Regions from separate parts of the Homo sapiens genome. Here region 1 is linked to region 2. Evidence: promoter capture Hi-C in 16 types of primary human blood cells and fetal thymus (Javierre and others, 2016). All regions are on one chromosome and are shown on one strand. Each heading gives the region's core, a stretch centred on a gene start or on the middle of the fragment in contact. The rest is flanking DNA. Distances are from core to core; before and after follow the strand shown.

Region 1 (5,347 bases), core at 1,426-3,925, 180 kb after region 2:
ACATCTTTGCTCTTCTCTGTATTAGCTTCAGTTTCAGACACACTTTTGCTTGTAGTGGCAAGAGAGCCCCCAGCATTTCCAGACTCAAACTCCATCTCACTAGTACCAGGAAAAGTTCCAGGTGGGCTCCCATTGGATCAATTTGAGCCATGTTCCTTCTCTGAACTAATTACTGTGGCCAGGGGAATAGGATGTCTTTATGGATCATGCCTTAGCCAGTTGTTCACCCCTGAAGCCTGGAGTGGGGCCAACCACACCCAAAGTACATGGTCTGAGAGTAAGCAAGAAATGATTCCGCCAGGAAAATCAGGAGTCTTCTTTACAGAAGAGCAAAGATGCTGGCAGGCAAAAACAACAGATGTCCACCCCAGATGCCAACAAGAAGCCAAAGTCATAAAACTGAACCAAGTACAGTTATGTACCGGTTTCTGGAATCCACCAGGAAAGGGTCAGATCTATATGAGGACTCAAGGTGTAAATGACAATTGCCCAGACGGCATTCTATATAAGGGTCTCTTTTTTAATAAATGTTTCAGGCCCTCCCTGGCCTGCTCCTTAACGCTTTAGAAAGAAACCTACTCTTTCTAGGCCTGACCCCAGAAACCCTAGTGCAGAAAGGGATCCCTTTGTAGAATGCAAGAGTGTCCTCCTGCCTTTCACTTTTTCATTCTCACAAAGTCTGGTCTTAAATCTTCACCCAGGCTAGACTCCTCCCCACCACATACATCTGTTTCTCCATTGATGCTACAGAGTAATCAGAAAGGGTCATTGGTATTGCTGTTCTGGTGAACATATCCATTGAAACAGATGCGTAGCAGATACCTGGGGCAGGAGTGGGAGTTGAGCAATGTGGCCCCGGCATAACTAGCATGAAGAAAAACCAAGGTAGAAGAGAAGAAGTGAGGAGCTGCCTAACAGGTTATATTTACCAAAATGTTTAAAAGGAAGGAGGAGGAAGCATACTTATTAGAAGATCTATCTCCATTTAAACAGCTCGCAAAATTAGCCGTCTCACCCATATGCCAAACACTGACAAAGAAAACACAACAGTCCTAGCACAAAAAAAGAGAGAGCAGAGCTGCAGTCTCAGGCTCTGAGAGGGCTCATTATCAAAGCTCTGTCTCCATCCTGTTGATATCAATCCTGGCAGGGCACCGTGGCTGCTGCCAGTGGAGAGGAAAAAATTACCCAGGCTGACGCCTCCAAATAATTGATAATTTGCCTCCTAAATGAACAAATCAAGTAAGATTTAATTGTTGGCGGGGACTGCCATCCAGGAACAGCAAAGTATATAATTGCTTAAGCATTACATATGGCTTTCCACGCATCCCCCCTCCCTCCCCCTTTCTTTTTATAAACCAAACATAATTGTTTAATGACATTGATGGGGAATAGACTTGTGACATTAAAAATGACACTTATGACATAACTGTCAGTTGATGACAGCTCACTGACAGCGCCAGTGAGAAATTAATCATTTTAGATGCTTTATGGTTTGCTCATTTAATGTCACAAATAAGATCTTGCTATCTAACCACATATAATCTCTCCCCGACAACCAACTCTGGTCCCTCTCCAGGGACAGTTTGGTTATTATCCTGCCTCTGGTATGGGGGCTGGCTGAGTGGGGCCTGGGGTAAGATTTTAGGAATAGTTGGTGGTGGGTTACCTGCAGGGAGGGGCTAGAAATTCCCTGGGGAAATTTGCACCTGAGCGGAGTCCACATTTAGTTCTCTCACTTGCCACTTGTTTAAGGAAGCTTTCAGGGGGAAAGAGCTAAACTGTTGGGACTGATTCTAATAAAGACAGAAAGCTGAGGAAGTAGAGAGGCTATTTTTAGCTGGTTAATGGGGAGTAAATGGGGCCACCCTGTGATATGCTAAGATATGCCTTGTGCTCATTGCTGACTGGTACTCCCACACTCTCTGCTGGGCAGACATCTGTTAATTGCTTTCTGTTGGACTTCACTTTGACATTTGGAGAAATGGAAGGAGACTACCTAACTATTTTCTCCCTAAACGATGTCTCTGTGGAGCTTGGGAGCAAGGGAGGAAGGAAGTGAGGTGAGTTGGAAGCTTGCTCTCTGCTCGAGTTTGCTAAAACCTTCAACACAGTGTGCCCAAGGCACTTTGGCCTGGATTTTATTGAAAACCCCTGTGTGGGCTCCAGACAATCCGTCACTGAAGTCTTTTCTTCCATGCTGCATTGGCCTGTGGTCTATTTAATCCGAACACATGCTTATCTCTCTACCCACCTTTCCATACATTTTACTAATCTTGTAAATAGATTCTAAAAAAATAATAAAATAAACTTTCCAATTTATAACAAAAAATGTTCTTCATCTCGTTGTGCATGCATCAGTGCTTTCTTGAGGAGGCAGCTCCTGTCACCAAGCAGCAGAAGGCTAAAAATCAAGCTTCCTAGGGTGAAGGTGGTAGTTTCACTCGTACGTAATCTTACCCTGCCTTTTCTTTCATTTAGACACCTAAGTTGCATTTGTATTTGCATTTAGTTAGGTTTAGCTATGTGGTGTAGTGCAATTAATGGCCACTAGGTGGCAACAAAGGACCTCTTGGCCTGATTATTGGCTGTAGGCAGTGACTGATACAGGTGAAATGAGCCTGCCTTCTGTTATAACAGTACCAGTGAAGACTTATTTGATGCTAACCACCTGGCAGGCACCATCATAAGTGCTTGCTTCTTATACATTAACACTTCGATCTGCAACAATCCTGTGAGTATTACAGAGATTAAGGAACTCACTCACATACCTAGCAGTTGGCAGAGCTGAAATTTAGCTTCGGTTCTGACTAATGACAAAGGCTGTATTCTTAGACTGCACTTTACTACACCCTTAAAAAATACCCTTCCAGTTTGGGGAAGAAGTTGAATAGCCAAAACAAATGCCTCACCATCACTGAGCTCTGAAGCTTCCTTCACATAAAATAAGAAGAAAAGGACACAGAAAGAGCAAATTTATCAAGGTACACAGACTCTCAGAGTTGGACAATTCTTGACCCTGTAGCCTAGGCTCCCATCCAGTAGAGGGGTCTCCCTGGCACAGCCCTGAAAGAAGATCACATGGTCTCTGCCAGACGACTTCTGGGAACTGGTCGCCAAATGAAGGTGGCATGAGTTTCTTCTCTGTCTGCTCATGGTGACTTTTCTTTCTAAGAAGAGGAATTCAGAGAGAAGAGACCAAAAAAAAAAAAAATCCGAACAAACAAATTCATAGCCCCTATCCATCAAAGTAGCTCTAGGGAACAATATGGATATGATGGTTAATTTCATCTGTCCACTTGACTGGACTGTGGGGTGCCTAGACACCTGGTCACATATTATTATGAGTGTGTCTGTAAAGGTGTTTCTGAAAGAGATTAACATTTGAATCGGTAGACTGAGGGAAGCAGATTGTCCTTGCTAATGTGTGCTAGCCCCATCTGATCTGTTGAAGGCTTGAATAGAACAAAAAGGCTGACCCTGCCTAGAGTAAGAGAGAATTCCCCCTGCCTGCCTGACTGCCTTTGAGCTGGGACATCATTTGTTTCCTGATGTTGGATTCAGACTAAAACATTGGCTATTCCTGGGTCTTGAGGCTGCTGGCATTTGGATTGGAACTTACAACATGGGCTCTCCTGGGGCAGCTTGCCACTCCAGATCTTGGGACTTAGCCTCCATAGTTGCATGAGCTAATTTCTTATTTTATTTATATGTAATATATACTATACATATGAATATACAATATATAATATGTATTATACATATGAATATATAACATATAATATATATTATACATATGAATATATAATATATATTATACATATGAATATGTAATATATATGAATATATAATATATTATACATATGAATATATAATATATATAAAATAACAATTAGCTGTATATCATAATATATAGAATTATAATGTATATTACATATAATATATATATAATACGTATTTTACACACATGCACATACATATCCTATTGGTCTATTTCTCTGAAGAACACAGACTAGTACAAAAGGTCAACCAAAAAAATCTAAATTATAAAAGAATGAAAGCTGCCTCCTTATTATATGTAGTGCGTGGTTAAGCAGGAGGGACTCTGTTGTCAGACCACCTGGGCTTTAGTGCTGGCTCTGCTCCCTCCTGTTTGTCCTAGGAAGCTTCAGTGACCTCTTTATAAAGGGGATAATCATAAATGAGATGATGCAGATACAATTCTTTGCACAGTGCTTGGCAATTAGTAAGTGTCTGTTACTTTCCTCAGGTATTTGTTATTTCTTTCAATCAGTTACCAAGCAATCTTGGCAAAATAACTTACTCTACTTTTTTCACAAATGAAAAAACCTAGAGGGGAAAAAATAGGCATAACTCTCCTCTTTTTTCTTCTTGGAAGGGATGCATGAGGTCAAAATGGATTAAAAAAGGGCCAGGCATGGTGACTCATGCCTGTAATCCCAGCGCTTTGGGAGGCTGAGGCAAGAGGATCACTGCAAGGCTCATGACCACTGCAAAGAATCATCATTTAGTCAGTAACCGCTTCCAAAGGAAAGGAGAGAAGCCTTCCTGGAGAGCCCAGCCAGTGCAAACAGCAGTCATTTCTGTGTCACAGCTCTCGGCTTATTCAAACAGGAAAGTGCAGTGGAATGCAGACTGCCAGGGAAAAGCATTCTTACAATATAATGCACATAGCTTTGTGGGCCTCCCTTAGTTTTAAAAATTATTTCTTAAGAAAGAAAGAGGCCTCCCTGGTGTAGATATAAAATTCTTTTAGGCCGGGCACAGTGGCTCACGCCTGTAATCCCAGCACTTTGGGAGGCCGAGGCAGGCAGATCGCTTGAGGTCAGGAGTTCAAGACCAGCCTGGCTAACATGGCAAAACTGTCTCTACTAAAAATACAAAAATTAGCCAGATGCAGTGGCGCGCGCCTGAAATCCCAGCTACTCGGGAGGGTGAGGCAGGAGAATCACTTAAACCTGGGAGCCGGAGTTTGCAGTGAGCCAAGATTGTGCCACTGCATTCCAGCCTGGGTGACAGAGCAAGAGCTTGTCTCAAAATAAATAAGTAAATAAATAAATAAATAAAATTCTTTCAGTGGCACCTGCACCTAGTAAATAGCATCTGATGGAGGAGACTCAAATGCCAGTGCTGAACTTCTGAGCAAGTGGGTTCTCCTCCTTCAGTTCTTGACTCTGTCTTTCCCTCTCCACATTGACATCACTCACATTGCTGGGGAGTTTGTACACTCTCGTGGCTTCAGCTAATCCCTCTCAGAAGGAAACTAGAAGACCTTCCTCTGCATGCAACTCAACAACTGGACATTTCCACCCAGATGTCCAACTAT
Region 2 (5,317 bases), core at 1,034-3,533:
TACTTTCTTCCTGGGGCTTGTTCTGACCCGAAGCAGGGAGGCAGTTTCTCGTATGTGGCTCCTCCCCACGCATCTAGCCTTCTGGGCATTGGGTCTCTCTGAAAAAGGCCCTTAAGCAAGGGCTTGAGGTTTCTAGCTAGTGCTGAGAAGGAGTCACACTCTCCTTGGTCTGAATGTAAAGACTCTTTGCCAGGGTGAACACGGGGCTTGTTGGCAGGCAGAGATCTGGGTAGTGAGGGGAAGAAGACTGGTTCATCTTCTCCTGCTCTGCCTTCTTGATAAACACTCACAGTTCTCAATAATGAGAGGAAAATGCACCCTGCTTGTGAATTATCTGGACCAGATCCTCCTCCTGCACCGCCTTTGACCCATTCCCAGTCAAAGGGAAGAAAGAGGCCAGTCTGTTGGCTGTAATAAATAAATGATGGCCTGGGATGGTAGGAGGAAATGATGCCAGGAAGGCAAGATTCTTTGCCTTCTCTTTAGATTTCTGCTTAACTCCAAGAGCAAAAGGGGCAGTCAATTCTTCTCCCTCCAGACCCTCGGCACCCCGCTCTTCCCCTCCCAACATGTACAGTCCACTAGATTATTAAAGTCCTCACTCTGGAGTGTGCAGAGAGCCTCACCCTCATGTGGGGTCCGTACCCTCCAAGATGGGTACTTGAGAGATGACAGTGTCTGCAAAAAGCAAATGGGAGGTGGCATTAATGTCAGAGAGCCCCAGAAAGGTGAGTTCTTTCCTTATCACTCTCCCCTTGCTTTACAGACCTGTAGCTGCTACAGGCAGAGACAAAAAACCATGAGTCACAACCTGTATCAGGAGACTTGACCTGCTCTGGACTCCTTGTTCAAGATTCTTCTGCCCACTATGCCTTTGCCAACTGAATCCCCCAGTGGCCTTCACCATGGTTACATGGGTCTAGAGCCAAGCACATGCACGATCAGAGAACAAACCATGCATGGGCTCGCTACAGGGTAAGTCCATCCAGTGACCACTTTCTTCCCCCCAGCTGCCCTCAGGATTACGTCCCAAGTGTCTTCATAACATTAAAACCAACTTGAACATGAGACTCAAAGAATGAAACCACGTCCTAAATTTTCCAGTACAGGTGCACCCTGCACCCCAGGACTGAAAAACCAGCCAAATCTCTGTTCTTCTAGTTGAGTAAATCTCCACAAAACCAGACAGAGCTACAATCTTGGTGCTTAAACTGCTCAGCACCCACCTTATCACACCAATTCCTATTATCAGCAGAATTTACTGCCTGGGATCCCTGGAAATCCTTGAGAAAACACCAAAGTGGCTGAGGATTGGTTTAAAATGCAGCAGGTTCAGCTATTTTAGCCTTGGAGGAAGTTGATAATTGACTTGCAGTGAATATGGCATTTTCCAGTCTCCTCTTCCTGCCCAATGAGCCCCCTGATCTAGCCACTCATCTTTGTTTTTCCAAAGTTCCCCAAATCCACAGATTTCAGACTCACCTTTAAGTACGAGTACCTGTGCCTTGAGACATCAGGACCTAGCTTTGAGTTTGCTTCAAAATAAGAATTTTTTTTTTTTGTCATAAGATAATGCAGAACAGAGAGATGGCTACAGCCATGCAGATGAGAAGAAGAAAAGAAATTTCAAATCTTGGATGTTTCTTTTGCCCCTAAGGCTTGAGGACAGGGAACAAAAAATGAGAAACACTTACCCTATATAAAGCACCCAGTTCAGCAGGCCTGTGCGGAACAGAAATGACTCCTGAGGAAAGGTGGGGGCCGGTCCTGAATAGTTGATTTCTCTCTTTAATGAAAAAGAACATGAGGCCGGATGCGGTGGCTCACGCCTGTGATCCCAACACTTTGGGAGGCCGAGGCAGGTGGATTGCTTAAGCTCAGGAGTTCAAGACCAGTCTGGGCAACATGGTGAAACCCCGCCTCTACAAAAAAATACAAAAAATTAGTCAGGCGTGGTGGTGTGCGCTTGTAGTCCCAGCTACTTGAGGGGCTGAGGCAGGAGAATCGCTTGAACCTGGGAGGTTGAGGCTGCAGTGAGCCCAAGATTGAGCCACTGCACTCCTGCCCGGGCGACAAAGTGAGACCCTGTCAGAAAAAAAAAAAAAGTAAGCAGAGGAAAGTGGAATTGAAGGAGAGGGAGTAAAGGTAGCTGGAAAAGAGAGAGTTTGGAGTATGGTTGAGAATTGAGCTGAATTTTTAGAATAGAGATTAGTAACAGACAATAAAAGAGAAACTGGTTTTTCCAAGTCAAGGGTGAGCAAGAGGGACTCAGCCCATTTCAAGGAGGTGGTACTAGTTTCACTCTTTATTTATGCACCTCTCAGCAAAGCTTCAGGTTACCTGCTGAACTCAACCAATGGAGAAAGGGCCTGGCAGCTGGTCCCACCTCTCAGAACCCACACCCCTGGGGGACCATGAATGGAGAGGTCTTTCTGCAGGCTACCCGTACTTTCTCATTGTTGTGTGAACACCAGAAAAGGGAAGTGAGGTCTTTGTCATCCCAGAGTTGGAGAGACACTGCAGGTTATCTGAGCCTTGCACCTGAAGCCTTAGTCCTCCCAGAGACCTACCTAATCGGGGAGAGGGGAATGCTAAGATTTTATCTTGTCCTAAGGAAGCTGAGTGTTTGTGTGTGTGTGTGTGTGTGTGCGCGCGTGTGTGTGCGCGCTTGCTTGCTTGAGCTTTTAGCCTGACCTGAGTTGCTGTCTCTACACAATGCACTTCGGGAATCCAGCAGAGATAGGCCAGTCCATCCAGGCAGAGCTGTAGAAAGAGGCCGGAGGGTCACAGTCGAGGCCCAGCCAGAGGCTTATCCTGGCATTTAGTACAGAGTAAGTCTGCTGCTCCCCTTGTGAGAAGCAAGTGTTTCTTTTATAATCCGAAAGGCTTTGTGACCTGCTTCCCTTTCATGTCTGGGGGTGGGGAAAAGACCACACTGCGAGGGGAAATTAAGGAAAGAGAAGGCAAGCTCATTAGTAACTTTAAAGAGGGCGGTCTATAAACTTGATTATTTTACCCCACCCCCGCTTCCATGCGCAACTTGGGCTCCGCCTCCTGCCCCTCCCCTATCTCTCGGCCCATCTTGCCAGCTTCCCCCTCCCTCGTTCCCCCTTCCAAGTGCACACCTGGAGGGCAAGGGAAGTTGAAGTCTCCTCAAATGTGCCACATTTCACCCAGGATCCTGGCCTGCTTTCCATTTGTTCTCCAGGTAAATCTAGTGTGCAGCGAAGGCAGATTCCTCTATTCTCCAGCGGAAGGGAGGGAACTGAAGAATCCAATCTATAGGACCTCTTAGTGCAGTCCTGTCCCACAGCCCTTCATGGAACTGAATCATGCCTGCCCAAAATCTCCCTAGAAATCAGCTAATCTAAACTTCTTACCGCATAGACTGGGGAACAGAAGTTTTGAAAGGTGAATTTCTGTCTTGCACAGCCAGTGCAGAGTCAAGATTCTAATCTACCTGGATCTCCCAAACCCCATTTAAAAGCCCTTTAAAACAAACCCTACACGTTGTTTTCCCCGGTTCTGGCGGACCTGAAGCTTGTCTGAACTATTCTGGATTCTTCCTGGGAGAAGAAAAGCCTCCACTGGTGAAGAAGAAAAACCAATACAGACCAATAGGAGGAGGGCAGGGAGATCTTCCACGTGATAGCTTCCTTAAGCACCGGACTCCTCCCCTAAACCGTGGAGCTCATGGCTTCCCTGCTGACTGGACCCAGTTTGCCTACACTGAGCCTCAGCTCTCCCATTTCCCAAAAAGTAATGCAGGCAGAGAAGCGAATTGTTCCTGGCCACAGTGATACACCCACATTGTGTGCTGAAGACTCTGGGCCCCCTTCTGACCTTTCCCTGCTCCCTCTCTCCCTCTTCCTTCCAGAATAGCATTCATTCATTCATTCACTTACTCACTCTCCCCATCACGTATCATTCCATGAGCATCGACTCTGTGCCAGGTGAGTGAGAGGCTGCGTTTACCCCCTAGGAGCTCCCAGCCTAGATGGACATCTACAAGAAGAGGCAAAAACATAGGCCAATGAGGAAAAACATGATGAATATCCCCCACAAAGGGAACTGCCGCATTTGTCTGTGAGATTCAGGGAAGGCTCTACAGACAGAGTGACATATTGGAACTGAATCTGAAAAAATGATGGCGGGCTGAGTGTGATGAAGACCTGCGAAAATTCAGGCCTTGAGGGAGGAGCTCTCACATGTTCAGAGCAGCCTGGGGTGCCGGGGACTGGAGAGCGCAGCCATCTTGTGATGGGCCTGTGGATTTCATTCACAGGTCAGGAAGCTCCGGAAGTCTCGAGACAGGGAATGAATGGACCAGAACTGTTTTTCAGAAGCCAGTTAGGACTGGAGGCAGAGCAACTGACTGCTGAGGAATATGACTGCCCCCAAAATATAGGGGAGAGGAGGGTAAGGAGGAGTGCCTAGGGCAGACGATATCAATAGTCCTGCTGGTCATATTCTGTCCCCTTGAGGGTTCATCTTTGACCTCTAAATTTGTTCAGAAAAATGGGATAAACCTATAGATTTATTGATTCTATATCCATCCAATACAGTAAAGAAAGACGACCTGCCCAAAATTATTATTATATTTTCTTCCCTTCAACTTCAGTCACCACAGCCCAGGAGGATGCTCTGTGGACTGACTGGACACTGGTTGGTGTGGAAGGTCTAGAGGGTGGGGGAAGCATATCTGGGTGGCTCTGCTGGAAGTTTCTTCTTCCAGCCCCTCAGCCTGGCTCTTTGTTCCAGAGTCAGCTTGTGAGGCAAAAGCCTTGATGTCCCTCTTCCCCTAGGTTTCTAGTTCCGTGTCTCTGAGAGGCATTCCGCAGAGTCATCCAGGGTGGTGCTGTGCTTGCCTGAGTGTGTCTGGGGTACAGGAGATGGAGATGGGGAGTGGAACAGCGTAGTGTGGTTGGAAGGGGAGGATACAGGGCTTCCTTCCGTCTCCACTGAAGAGTAGCCATGGTAACCGTGGTTTACTCACTTTGGCTGATCTTGGGCCTCACCTTTTGTTTTCATGCACTGTATGCCCCCTTGATCCTCATTTCTCCTCCCCCTCAACTACCCCAGCCAGAGTTCCTCTACTGTTAGAAGTTCTTGGTCCTCACATGCATTTCTGGCTCCTGAAAAGACTCTGCCATTCTCTCTGCTCAAATTTCCAGCCCCAAAACTAACTGCCACATCTTCAGTTTTTGAAGAAAAAGATAAAAGACCTGAAATTCTCCAAAGTGTTTTAACACGTGGTTAGCATTAGAGTTAGGTATGGGTCTCTCTGACTAAATTCTGCTTATAAGCTCATCTAACT

Evidence for each region. Contacts are between HindIII fragments. The CHiCAGO score rates a contact against its expected background, and 5 or more counts as called.
Region 1: a fragment that was not itself captured here is called in contact with the fragment with the promoter of MIR205HG in region 2 in 2 of 17 cell types (M0 macrophages and M1 macrophages); the score reaches 5.1 in M0 macrophages.

What each region holds. Positions count from the first base shown.
Region 1 is chr1:209,246,063-209,251,409 of GRCh38, reverse strand. The region is part of intron 2 of LOC105372896 (a long non-coding RNA gene); the gene reads left to right. Among named protein-coding and RNA genes, the nearest start is that of LINC01696, 77 kb to the left of the region's middle. The HindIII fragment of the contact is 514 bases long and covers 2,419-2,932 here.
Region 2 is chr1:209,425,786-209,431,102 of GRCh38, reverse strand. MIR205HG (MIR205 host gene) reads right to left here and starts at 2,283. Exons shown (of 4, transcript NR_145437.1): 1 at 2,015-2,283; 2 at 1,695-1,922; 3 at 627-678. RefSeq lists an enhancer at 2,362-3,285. The HindIII fragment of the contact is 6,862 bases long and covers 1-2,331 here.